Regions from separate parts of the Homo sapiens genome. Here region 2 is linked to region 1. The links are contacts of gene promoters, found by promoter capture Hi-C in blood cells and fetal thymus (Javierre and others, 2016). All regions are on one chromosome and are shown on one strand. Each heading gives the region's core, a stretch centred on a gene start or on the middle of the fragment in contact. The rest is flanking DNA. Distances are from core to core; before and after follow the strand shown.

Region 1 (7,121 bases), core at 147-2,646:
TCTTTTTGTCACTATCAGCTGTTAAGAGTACATTAGCAGCAGGCAACTGGCCTGTGAAGATAACTTTCAGAATAAAAAAGAACAAATCAATTCTACAATCAGAGCCCCATTTCAACTTGGCAATTAACATTGGCACAAAATCCATGGCAGAAGTGCCATCCAGGAAAAGGAGATCTAGACCTCTTCTGCTTTTCTTCTTTGGGGGCCATGTTCAACTGTAAAGACACACGAAATGGTGCAACTGCATTTCTAAATCAGCAACAATTCAGAAATGTTTCATTCTAAATAGTGTCCAACCAGCAACACCGTCTTAAACCGTTTAAATTATCGTGTAAAACGGCTTAGAGATGAAGTTTTCCCTATGCAAGTTACAGCCCCTGCCAACATTTTAAAAAATATAGCTGCTTTCATTCTGCAGTACTGAAAACATATTAAATGGTTACATTTTCCAAAACTGTCTTAAGCTAGAGCAACCACATCAGCATCATTCCGACGCACAGAACACAGGGCTTTTATTTTGATGAGTTTATTAAGGCCAAGTCTGCAGGGAGCAGCGCAGCAGTCGCGGAGCGGCGAAGGCACCGTCCATCCCTCGCCGTGCACAGCTCGAGTGACAGCGACCACAGTCACGGCCGCGACACGGGCACATTCGGCGGGGAGAGCGGTCTTGGGCTCCGGGACCCGTCACGGGCTTTGCCATTAGGGCTCCACACACAACCTTACAGCCTCTCCCAAAGAAAAACGATCCATTTCCTTCCTTAGCTTGCTGAGCCTCGGAAATCATTAAATAAGACTATCGGGGTTTCTCTCCCTTCTGCAATTTTTCTGAAGAGGTTCTCAGGGAGAAAATTCCAGGATCGAGATTTGGCACCTCACATCACCGCGATAAAAACGGCGCCTTTCGTCAAATAAAAAGGACCCGCGCGCGTACGTGACCGCCCGGCCCACGAGCACCAGCGGCTCGGTCTCCGCCTGCGGCCCTCGGCCCAGCCGAGCAGGCCCACGCGGGCCTTGGGCGGCGGGCCCAGCCTCCACAACTCCGGGCGCGGCCTGCGACGGGCGGTGACCTAGGGCGGCGGCGGCCCCCACCTGGGCCGGGGCGGGCACCTGCGGGAGCCGCGGAGGCGCCAGACCTGGGGTCGGCCAGCTGGGCTCTCCCTCGTCGCCCACCAGCTCCCGCGCCTCACCTGCGGGCTGTCCTCCAGCGTCTCCTCGATGGGCAGCTTGTCGATCCCCGGCATCGTGGCGGAGGGAGGGCGGTGGCAGGAGACGCAGCTGCCGCCCACAGCTCCCCGCGCCGGCCCGCCCGCCGCAGCTGACCCCGGCCCGCCCTCTCCGGCAAGGGCTGCAGCCGTCCCCGCCCGCACAGCCTTCTCCAGGCGCCGAGCGGCCGTGCGGGAAATCCCGCCCCCTCGGCCTCCCTGCCCCGCCTCCCGGCGCGTCCATTGGCTCCCGGGGACGCCCATCCGCGCTGCGGCGGTGGTCGGGAGGTTCCCGTGCGGCGCTAGGCTCTCCCGCGAGCGCGGGCGTCGGAAGCGGCGGAGGTGGCAGTGTCTGCCCTGGGATGGCCTTCCCTGCACGCGCGCGTTTGTATCTAAATCGCAGGGGACCGTCTCTTCCTCAGCTTGCCGGCGCGAGGAGCCAGAGCCTCGAGTTAGGGCCACACGGGGGAATTTGGGGCGGGTTGACTTTTCCCGCAACATATTTTGTCAGAGACCTTGGAGAAAGTCCTACTGCTGGCGCCTTTTAGTTTCCTCAGATGATAACATTCCCAACTCCGCTCGAAGCGTCCAGTCTTAATCCCCTCCAGCAGAATGGTGCTGACTAACTCAGATGTCTGAGATCCGCAGCTGTGTCAATAATAGGGCTTTCTGGCAAACTTGTGAACGTAGGCTCGAAATTGTTTTTCTGGACGCTTGAATATCAGTATATTCAGTTGAAAACATGTGATTTTGTTGCCAGTTTATCAGTTCCTACCTGGCCTCCCGAGGTCAGTCCTTCAGGACTGACGCTGCAACTCCAACTCCCATGTTTCTTTTAAATCACAAAGGAAAATATCTTTTAAAAATCAGGATACACTGATTAATTATGTTAGTAACTAATTGGCATTTGTTGAATCAAAAAGTTTTGGAAGCGTTAAATAGTTTTAGCCTCTAATTTTACAATAAAGTGAAGCTCAAAGTTGGGAATTTGACCGGATGAGGGCTACAAGCCTATCCTTTCCTCCTCCCTCTTCATCTTTCCCAACCTGTCACCCTGGCTCGTTTATGTCTCTGTATAGTTGTAGGCTTTCATCATTATACAGAGAAAATAACAAAGTAAGTAGTGTCTTCTAAACATCTAGCCATTAATTCCACCAATCCATTCCATTTTCATTCAAGAAATACCAGAGATGCTGAGTAAAGATTAATTAGCTGCCTGGTTCCACAGATACATGGGAACAAATCCAGAATAGTAGTAGCTCAAATCCAAATATAGTAACAAATAGAAGTTATATATTTTAAACGAAAATAGTAGATTTTCCCATGATCTCTTGAAAGAAAAATAAAATTATATTTTTAAAGTTTTGTTGAGTAGACTTGCATTGTAGTTTTACGGAATTATTTTTAGTGTTACAATCTTTAAAAGTTTTCCCCTTAGATTGTTTATCAGCCAGTCTCTCTCTCCCGAAGAGTTCTTTAGTTTTTGAGGAAGTTGATTTGGAGGCAGTTCTTACAATGAGTTAAGGGTTCCCAGTTGTGTTACAGTTTCTTTTTCCTTGATATCTCATTTCTACTCTGCCAACAAGAACACCATGCACCCCAGCTCTAAAGAAGGAAGACTTTCAAGGTAAGTGACCTTCCTGATTGAACTGAGTTAGATTTTAAATGAAGAAAGGTTGTGGCAACTGTTAAGAATCAGGAGTAAGTGAGGAGTGTAAACAATGTATAAGAAAGAAAAAAAAAAAGGCCTGGCGCTGTGGCTCACGCCTGTAATCCCAGCAATTTGGGAGGCCGTGGCAGCTGGATCACCTGAGGTCAGGAGTTCAAGACCAGCCTGCCCAACATGGCGAAACCCAGTCTCTACTAACAATACAAAAATTAGCCGGGCGTGGTGGCGTGCCTGTAGTCCCAGCTACTCAGGCGGCTGAGGCAGGAGACTCAGTTGAAGCCGGGAGGCCCAGGTGCAGTGAGCTGAGATCATACCACTGCGCTCCGGCCTGGGCGACAGAGCAAGACTACGTATCAAAAAAAAAAAAAAAAAGAAAAGAAAAGAAAAGTATTTGTTACCTAATTAACTTGGCCAAACCAAATAATTCCGATGAAAAATTCGATTAGTTATCTGAATTATCTGGGTGTGGTATTGTCAAGTTAAATGGTTTCCTTCTTAGTATGTTATGTACATCTAAACTGTGTTTCTGTAAAGGACTCTCAAGAGGCCATTACATTATCGCAGAATGGCAAGGAATTCTTGCCGGACTCAGCTGGTTAAAAAATAAAACAGGCTGGGCGCGGTGGGGCTCACGCCTGTAATCCCAGCACTTTGGGAGGCTGAGGCAGGCGGATCAAGAGGTCAAGAGATGGAGACCATCCTGGCCAACTGGTGAAACCCCGTCTCTACCAAAAATACAAAAATTAGCTGGGCATGGTGGCACACGCCTGTAGTTCCAGCTCTTTGGGAAGCTGAGGCAGGAGAATCGCTTGAACCCGGGAGGTGGAGGTTGCAGTGAGCCGAAACTGCACTCCAGCCTGGGCGACAGAGCGAAACTCTGTCTCAAAAACAAAAAATAAATAAAAATGAAAAAATAAAACAAACAAAAACAGGTTCACATTCAGTTGGATGGAGAGGTAGGTTTAGTCAAATCTAGTTTTAACCTATTTGTACTAGAATCCAGTTTTAACCTTCCATTTGGATTCTCTAGCTTTAGGCCACTGTATACCCTGCTCATCCAAAAATATGGTTGTATTTCCTAAGTTAAAACATCTCCAAAGCTGCAAAATTCATAGTCCTTTTTGATAACCACTTTAAGTTTATTCAGCCTACGTTTTGTGCAGTTAACCAAACTCAGTTCATTTTAAGCCAGTTTTCTTTCATACAGGAAATGAGGCTTGTTCAGAGAATGCCTTAGGGGTTACTGGCGACTCGTGTGGGTAGTAGAGTAAAAACTTTGGGCAACTGGTTAATTTTATGGAAAGCAAGTCAGGATTAAACAACATCCACTAAAGATTTCTTTGAGATGTTTCACATATATACCTTGAGACATTTCACACGTATAATTTACAACAAAAGGACGTACAGTCTTGTAAATAGAGTTGTTAATTATTAGTCTCCTAAAATTATATTTGGTCTTATAATTAGGTTTTTACATGATACTCCTTGAAGTTCTGGTCTGTGATCTGTAATAGGAAAGAATCCAATAACCCAAGTGATGCTGGTGCTTTACTTTTAAAAATTATCCCTTTAGGTCAGTGGTTTCCAAACTTAATGCACACATAAAAGTTATCTGGGAAGGTTGTTAGCATACAGATTCCTGAGCCCTGCTGGAAGATTTTGGTGTAGTAGGTCAGAGTCAGGGCTGGGAATCTCTCCAGTTAAGTCTGAAGTGGGTAATCCACAAACCACATGAGGAAAAACTCTATCCAAGATGGAGAATGATCATTTCCCTTTCCTAAATCACTTTGTATTTAAAAAAAATTTTTAAAGAGTCAGGTGGGCACAGTAGCTCATGCTTGTAATCCTAGCACTTTGGGAGGTCAAGGTGGAAGGATTGCTTAAGCTCTGGAGTTTGAGACTAGCCTGGGCAACACAGAGACACCATCTCTACAAAAAAAAATTAAATTAAATTAAAATTTTAAAAAATTGGCCTGGTGCAGTGGCTCATGCCTGTAATCCCAGCACTTCGGGAGGCCGAGGCGGGTGGATCACCTGAGGTCAAGAGTTCAAGACCAGGCTGGGCAACATAGTGAAACCCCGTCTCTGCAAAAATTAGCTGGATGTGGTGGCAGGTTCCTATTATCCCAGCTACTCGGGAGGCTGAGGCAGGAGAATCGCTTGAACTTGGGAGGCGGAGGTTGCAGTGAGCCGAAATCACACCACTGCACTCCAACCTGGGTGACAAAGCGAGACTCAGTCTAAATTAAAACAAAAATTAACAAAAAATAAAGAGTCAAGCAAACATTTAGAAAAGGAATCCTAGATTCCAGCTAAGGATGGTGAGGACATGATTTCCAGGCTAACGAGCTGGAAACCACCTACTCACAAATATTCTCTAAAAGACTCCATCAATCTAAAATTCTGGGAAATTCATACTCCTTTTAAAGAGTGTAATGTATAATGCAAAAAATTCTGGTTGTTACCTAGTAAATCACTCCTTAATAGGACTAACTTTAACAGATAATTCATTATTTTCTTAATACCAGCTGAGATAAAGCAGATTCAGGAAAGAGCAGATTTCAAGAAAATTGATAATTTGGGAACTTCAGTCATTTAATCTATTTTAAAACATTAGAGCCAGTAGCAGAGTAGGGGGAAGCTTTGGACAATTGGAGGGTAAAACAAAAAGTTCTGAGGAATGGGTTGCAAAAAGAGGTGGGAGGGCACTAAGGACCAACTGGTTGGTTCTTCATTGTGCCACTGCAAACTAGCTTCTGCCTTTGACCTTGACCTTGATGTCACTTTTACTCATTGCCACAGCATCCTTAGAATGTGGGACAATTCTGCAGCTTCAACTTTCTTGATGGTAAAAAGAAAAAAAAAAACTTCTAGGAAAATTGTATATGCTTTTGTTTATCTATGGTTGCCTTGATTCCTTTTTAGAAGAACACATTAATTAATTTGTCTGAGCAGGCCAAGAACTTTAACACAAAATAGCATCATAGCCCTTCTGTGGAGAGGTAGATGAGAACATGGTTATGAGCTAATAAGCTTGGGCTGTGATTTAAATTCTGGCTCCACTGTTTAGTAGCTCTGTGACTTAAGTAAGGTTATTTAACTTCTCTGTTTCTCCATTCTGCCATCTGAAAAATGGAGCTTAATACTAGAGAACTTACATTAATAGTATTGTTAAGATGATTAATGAGCTTTTAGAGTAGCTCCTAGCGCAATAAGCATTCAGTAAAAATTATCTTTTTCATTATCAACTATTAAATATTAAAATATTTTAATACATTTAAGGAAGCTTTTTTGTCTCTATCATATTTTTTTAAAAACTAATATTTTTTAAATCAGAAGATTGGGCTCATTACCTTAGAGAATCCTGATGCTATTTTAAATAACATTAGTTACTCTTGCTAATGTTTTATCACTTTGATTTGGGGGCTTTTGAGGCCAAAACCAAAATTTCAAAATCAATAAATATGTACTTTGAAATTCTGGAGGAAAAGTGTACCAAAACAATTACCAAAATAGCCAAGATTATTGCCATTTTGAGGTTTTTAGGAGTTTTTGTTTTGTTTTTTGTTTTGTTTTTTGTTTGGCGGGTGGTGAGTGGGTAGAGGTGCCCCAAAGTTAAAAGATTTTCATGACACTTACCCCACATGGGAATTCTGGAAGGAACAGTCAAATCATTGGGGAAAAAATTGCTCATAGGCTGGGGGCGGTGGCTCACAGCTGTAATCCCAAAATTTTGGGAGGCTGAGGTGGGAGGATCGCTTGAGCCCAGGAATTTGAGACTAACCTGTGCAACATAGTGAGACCGTGTCTCTACAAAAAATTTAAAAATTAGCCAGGTGTGGTGGCACATGCCTGTAGTCCCAGTTACTCGGGAGGCTGAGGTGGGAGGATTGCTTAAGCCCAGGAGGTCAAGGCTGCAGTGAGCCGTGATCTTGCCGCTGTACTCCAGCCTGGTGATAGCGAGACCCTGTCTCAAAAAAATGCTTTTAGGGAAATTAATATGTCCTGTGCCTGTTTAATCATTGAAAACATTTTAATATTTTCAGAGCCATAGAGGGCAGTGAAAAACAGAGTAGCAGAATTGATTATACCAGTACTATTTATCCAATGGCTAATACAAATAAGACTCTCAGGGATAATTCACACGTGCTTCCAAGAACACTAGATGGCACCAATTATTTAGGATTCAGACTACCTCAGGGAACAGCTGTCTTCATTCAACAAATATTTATTAAATAATGAACAAAACA
Region 2 (6,956 bases), core at 3,735-6,234, 530 kb after region 1:
CCAGCCTGGGCGACAAGAGTAAAACTCCATCTCAAAAAAAAAAAAAAAAAAGAAAGAGAAAGAAAGGAAGGAAGGAAGGAAGGAAGGAGAGCATCATCTGGTGAGTGTTAACTACTCCACATCTCTAACAGGAATGTGGATAAGCATCTTCTAAAGGAATTATGGATTTATACTATTTCAATACTATTTTTATCAAGGAAATGTATATGAATAGTATTTTATTTTTAATATATATTTTTTGTTGTTGCTAAGTAAGCAAAACTGATTTTTTGGACCATTATTATCATATATTCTGTCTCTAGAGCAACTCAGATTCTCAAGAGAATGGACTAATCACCAAATGGCACAAACTGCAAGTAGAATTCCTCTAGATAAGTAACTGAACACCACATTTTCTTCAATTAGATAAATGTCTGGTGTTATGTTTCTATAATTTATGTAAATTGCAACCATAGACCTACCAATTACCCTATTTAAACTTGGCTGGTTCCCCAAAGATTTCTTAGGAAAAAACTTATTATTAATTGCCTATCTTTTCAGAGCCACTGGGCCGGGGGTGGGGGAAGGGTAGGGTACTGAAACTTGAACTCGTATTTTTTGTAAAGCTCTATTTTTGAGAATCTCTTTTAACTGGAATGTTTTACATTAAATGAAAAAATAATTGGGAAAAAATATTTTTTTCACTTGGGAGTATTATGGGGAAGGACATTTGAAATGAGGCATTTAAAGCCAAACCATTATCTAACTTTTTGTTTCCAAGAGTTGAAATGGAACTTTTTGGGGAAAAGAATCTGGAATATTTAATGTTGTTAAGTCACTGGGCTTTAGGTTTAATGTTCTTTTTGAAGAGGGTTAATGTGAATTAACTCTAATACGAATCATTAAAATATAAAAACCAGGAAAAGAGCCAGGCACGGTAACTCACGCCTGGAATCCCAGCACTTTGGGAGGCCGAGGCGGGTGGATCACCTGAGGTTGGGAGTTCGAGACCAGCCTGACCAACATGGAGAAACCCTGTCTCTACTAAAAATACAAAATTAGCCAGGCGTGGTAGCGCATGCCTGTAATCCTAGCTACTCTGGGGGCTGAGGCAGGAGAATCACTTGAACCTGGGAAGTGGAGGTTGCAGTGAGCTGAGATGGCGCCATTGCACTCCAGCCTGGGCAACAAGAGTGAAACTCCATCTCAAAAAAAAAAAAAAAAAAAAAAAAATCAGGAAAAGACACAGCTAGCACTTTTGCTACTCACATATTCACATCATGGCTGGATATAGACATGCATAAGGTGGAGGGTCCAATGCCAATTGCTGGTGCTTTAATTGACCCAGGCCATATCCCATTGTAATCTTTGCGTTATCTTGCTATTATTGTATTGGTCAAATTTAGAATTTTTTCTTTTCTTTTTTTGGTGGGGGCAGGTGGAGAGAAAACAGGAAATGATTTACTCAGTTCTTTCTACACAATTAACATAAATTTAAGCATAGTTGCCTGTCAAATAACTTCCTGTATTATATACCTGAGAAAGAATTTCCCCCAAGCTATTAGTGGAACACTATATCAACCTCCTTTTTTAAAAAACAGTTTAAGGCTGGGTGTGGGGGTTCACGCCTGTAAGTAATTCCAGCACTTTGGGTGGCCGAGGTGGGAGGATCACTTGAGGCTAGGAGTTCAAGTTTGCAGTGAGCTGTGATCATGCCAGCCTGGGCTACAGAGCAAGACTCCGTCTCAAAAAAATTAAATAAATAAATAAAAATAAAAAATAATAAAAAACCGGTTTTAGATCCTTTGGTAGTTCATAAATTTCAGCACATTACCCGTCAGACATGAAAAAAAAAAGTTTCATTGATATAATTCATGCACCATACAATTCACTGACTTAAAGCATACAATTCAATCGTCTTTAAGATAATCACAGAATTATGCAACTACATTTTCATCACCTTAAAAAGAACCTGTACCCTTTAGCTATCATCCCCAAATTCCCTCATTAACCTAGCCCTAGGAAACCACTGATCTAATTTCTGTCTGTATTGATTTCCCTGTTCTGGACATTTCCTATAAACAGAATCATACCATATGCAGCATTTTGTGACTGGCTTCTTTTTCTTAGCACAGTATTTTCCAGGTTCATCCATGTTGCAGGATGTATCAGTTCTTCACTCCTTTTTATGGACAAATAATATTCCATTGTATAAATGTAAGATATCTTGTTCATCTCTTCATATGTTGATGTACTTTTGCTAATTTCTCTTAAAATCAGCATTTTGTAGCACCAACCATATAGCAAAAGGTCATGTCAAATATCTTTTTATTACCAGGCTTTTATGGACTGGGGAGAAAATGTCCAAAATTAAGTCTGAATACCTTTCTGGTACTATGAAGCACCAAATAATAAAACAATAACCTGAATCATGTGACTTAAAAGGGAAGCAGCTCTCAATTTAGTTATTGGTCAGCCAAAGAAATTGGATGACTTTGATTACTTCTGTCTGCCCAGAAATCATATATAAATCTGTAGGAGCTACGAGAAATTAGTGAAGAAACTTGTGTTTTTAAGGGAGTTGGTGGGAATATTCCTGTTCACTCAGAAAAATGAAAGGACAAAACAAGGGAGAGAAATGATACATAGAGGAATGATTAAAATGCCCAGTGGGTAACTTTGTAATTTTTCTTGATTTCCATTGAGAGTCTTGATTAACAAAGTAGCCATCCCAGAGGCCTATAAGCAAGTAGAACTGGGGTAGTTGCAAGGGTTTGCAATTAGATTTAGGAGGCAAATCTGAGTCCTGTTCCCTCACTTACTGGTGATGTTTCCTTGAGCAAGGCAGTTAAGTTACCATTTCCTCATCTGACAAATGTAACAATGTTTCTCTGACAATGCTGGGAAGATTAAATGAGGCAATGGGTATAGAAGCATCAGAAAACAAACAGGGTCAGGATGGATCTGCTTGTTTACAGCTGTAACCTCAGAAGCCCATCTTAGGGCCTGGTAGCAGGTTGAGAGAATAAGTGAAGCATTTGGTAAATTGCAAGGTGTTATTCACATGTTCTCTCTGTATTGTTACTTCTTTTCCTCCAACTTATTCACTGTCTTCCAAATTGAGTGCTGAGATGGGTTATCTTGAAAATAGGAAGTTCCAGACAACTTTCTTTTGGCCTCTTTTATCATAAAAACATAAAATCGAAGACACTTTTAATTTGAAAATTTTTTTTTTCACACATTCCACCTACGTTTGCACTTTTGTAGTGTACCACTTCCTCTTGAGCATTTTTTTTCTCTTTGTGTAACTTGGATTGTTGGCACCAGCCTCCTTCTTACTTACAGAGCTCCACCAACCACAACGTGAAGTTAGTATAAATTTAGATCTTTGTTCAGATGATAATGGCAGTGGTGTAAATGACTCTATAACTGCGTCTATACTGGCCAGTCAGCTGATAGAAGAAAACCATCACTTCCAATTCTTAAACCCTATTGATTTCAACTAGGCTTGAATTTGGCAAATGAAGCTCATCTATTTTTCAAATGCAGTAAAAAACACCTGGAACTTGTATAAATCTCGTAACAGGCATTTGAGTACATGCACTCTAATTTATATTTTGAATAAATACAGATTTCCATATAATGGATTCAGTTTGCTTAAAGCAAGATATACCAAACATTTAATGGGGATAAATCCAAATCACGTAATGTGAGACATCAACAATTTTTCTGCCAGAGAATATCAGATAGTCACTTTATCCTCAGGAGTCAAAAACATATTTATTTATTTATTTAAGTCTAGCTCTGTCGCCCAGGCTGGAGTGCAGTGGCGTGACCTCAGCTCACTGCAAGCTCCACCTCCTAGGTTCACGCCATTCTCCTGCTTCAGCCTCCCAAGTATCTGGGACTACAGGTGCCCGCCACCACGCCTGGCTAAGTTTTTTTTTTTTTTTTTGTATTTTTAGTAGAGATGGGGTTTCACCCTGTTAGCCAGGAGGGTCTTGATCTTCTGACCTCGTGATCCACCTGCCTTGGCCTCCCAAAGTGCTGGGATTACAGGCGTGAGCCACTGCGCCCGGCCCAAAAACATATTTAGTAAACACTTACTGTGTTCCAGGCACTGTGGTGAGCCCTGGGGATACCATGGTAAGCAGAACCCAGACATTGACCCTCAGTCCATGGTATGGCACAGACTGTAGTGAGAGAGACAGATTTAATTAAATAGTCCCACAAATGAGGGAGTAATTACAAATTGAGGAAATTGGGAGGTAAATGGTCTGAGTAAAAGGAGCAAAATTCTGTAAGAGCATCCAATGGGGAACTCGACCTAGAATGGGGGGCCGATTATGAAAGAAGTTCACACAGGGAAGTGAAGCTTCAGCCAAAGGAAGTGCAGTAGCTTACTGGAACTGGAGAAGAGGGTGGCACGGGGAAGAATAACATCCCACACAGGAAACATATCATGTGCTGAGGTTGATTGCATGGCCAGGGAGTTTGGCAAGTGTGCCAGACATAGGAAGAACCAAGGAGGAGCTTAGGGAAGTGAAGTGCAAGATGGAAAGGCAGGCAAAGGTCAGAATCAGTAAGGGTCCATTGCCCACATGAAGAATTCTTATCTTTGTCCCTGGAATAATGAGAATCCATAGAAAAGTTTTGTTTTTGTTTATTTAATTGAAGAATAACATCACAGAATAAAATGCAACTCTATGCATACAGTTCAATGAATACTTATATGTGTATGCCCCTGTCTGTATAACTACCACCCAGATCAAGATACAGAGCATTTCCATCATTCCAGAAAGTTCCTTCATGTCCCCTTTGAGTCAATTACCTACCACCCCCACTCCAAAAAGGGAACCACAATTCCTTTACTACCATAGATTATTTTTGTCTGTCCTTGAACGTCATGTAAATGGGATCATACAGTACATCTTCACCCCCACAAGGGAACCACAATTCTTTTATTACCATAGATTATTTTTGTCTGTCCTTGAACATCATGTAAATGGGATCATACAGTACGTCTTTCATTTAACATTATGTCTATGACATTAATCCATGGCATTGCATGTAATAAAGTCTTAGAAGGGTTTCACTCAGAAATGAAACAAAACTTAAGTGACAGCTCTTGACTTCTGGGTTTAGCTGAGGTTTGTGGTTACCAGAGTCAGCTGTGTTGGTGAGAGGACACTTGCTTCTTGTTCATTGCTAACTATATTCTTTTTTTCAATTGAATTTCTCCCTTTTGTTGCTTCTCCTCATTGCATGGAAGTTTTTCTTCCAGTCATTAACCAGGAATCAACTTCAACATGGTTTCTTGCCAAATTAAGAGGGTCTTTTTCAGGCTTCCCTAGTGTGTCCGGAATTGGTGGGTTCTTGGTCTCACTGACTTCAAGAATGAAGCCGCGGACCCTTGCGGTGAGTGTTACATCTCTTGAGGTGGCACGTCTGGAGTTTGTTCCTTCTGATGTTCGGCTGTGTTCGGAGTTTTTTCCTTCTGGTGGGTTCATGGTCTCGCTGGCTCAGGAGTGAAGCTGCAGACCTTCGCAGTGAGTGTTACAGCTCATAAAAGCAGTGTGGACCCAAAGAGTGAGCAGTAGCAAGATTTATTGCAGAGCGAAAGAACAAAGCTTCCACAGTGTGGAAGGGGACCCGAGTAGGTTGCCACTGCTGGCTAGGGCAGCCTGCTTTTATTCTCTTATCTGGCCCCACCCACATCCTGCTGATTGGTAGAGCCAAGTGGTCTGTTTTGACAGGGCGCTGACTGGTGCGTTTACAATCCCTGAGCTAGACACAGAGGTCCTCCACGTCCCCACTAGATTAGCTAGATACAGAGTGTGGACACAAAGGTTCTCCAAGGCCCCACCAGAGTAGCTAAATACAGAGTGTCGATTGGTGCATTCACAAACCCTGAGCTAGACACAGGGTGCTGATTGGTGTGTTTACAAACCTTGAGCTAGATACAGAGTGCCGATTGGTGTATTTACAATCCCTGAGCTAGACATAAAGGTTCTCCACGTCCCCACCAGACTCAGGAGCCCAGCTGGCTTCACCCAGTGGATCCCGCACTGGGGCTGCAGGTGGAGCTGCCTGCCAGTCCCGCCCCTTGCGCCCGCACTCCTCAGCCCTTGGGTGGTCGATGGAACTGGGCGCCGTGGAGCAGGGGGCGGCGCTCATCGGGGAGGCTCGGGTCAGCACAGGAGCCCATGGAGGGGGTGGGAGGCTCAGGCATGGCGGGCTGCAGGTCCTGAGTCCTGCCCCGTGGGAAGGCAGCTAAGGCCGGGTGAGAAATCGAGCGCATCGCCGGTGGGCTGGCACTGCTGGGGGACCCACTACACCCTCCGCAGCCACTGGCCCGGGTGCTAAGCCCCTCATTGCCCGGGGCCGGCAGGGCCGGCCGGCTGCTCCGAGTGTGGGGCCGCCAAGCCCGCGCCCACACGGAACTCCAGCTGGCCAGCAAGCGCCGCGGGCAGCCCGGGTTCCCGCTTGCGGCTCTCCCTCCACACCTCCCTGCAAGCTGAGGGAGCTGGCTCTGGCCTTGGCCAGCCCAGAAAGGGGCTCCCACAGTGCAGCGGTGGGCTGAAGGACTCCTCAAGTGCCGCCAAATTGGGAGCCCAGGCAGAGGAGGCGCCCAGAGCCAGTGAGGGCTGTGAGGACTGCTAGCACGCTGTCACCTCTCACTAGGACACACCTAAGAAATATTTGCTCAATGAGTAACCAGAAAAACCCTTTGGGGAAAGAGGATGACTCCTTGGAAGTAGAATTATTGTTGCTCAATATATGGAGGGAATGACAATTTCACATTTTTTAATGCATCTGAATGGACAGTGGAGTTGTAACCTTGTAATATTTTCTTCATCCATAAAATGAATCAAACTAATTAAGATCCTTAAAGTTCTATGAATTAGATGTTAGTGGTACTTTTTTGTTGACTGGACTTTATTATCTTTACTACTGTCTTTAAATGAAAATGTTAA

Evidence for each region. Contacts are between HindIII fragments. The CHiCAGO score rates a contact against its expected background, and 5 or more counts as called.
Region 2: a contact is called between a fragment that was not itself captured here and the fragment with the promoter of APPL1 in region 1, in 1 of 17 cell types (M0 macrophages). The highest score is 6.8, in M0 macrophages.

The regions. Positions count from the first base shown.
Region 1 is chr3:57,222,004-57,229,124 of GRCh38, reverse strand. It overlaps APPL1 (adaptor protein, phosphotyrosine interacting with PH domain and leucine zipper 1), which reads right to left and starts at 1,396. Exons shown (of 22, transcript NM_012096.3): 1 at 1,188-1,396. The coding sequence starts at 1,241. It also overlaps a transcript of HESX1 not described here. RefSeq lists a silencer at 939-1,598. The HindIII fragment of the contact is 8,451 bases long and covers 1-5,514 here.
Region 2 is chr3:56,691,401-56,698,356 of GRCh38, reverse strand. No RefSeq gene overlaps it. Among named protein-coding and RNA genes, the nearest start is that of TASOR, 12 kb to the right of the region's middle. The HindIII fragment of the contact is 1,255 bases long and covers 4,357-5,611 here.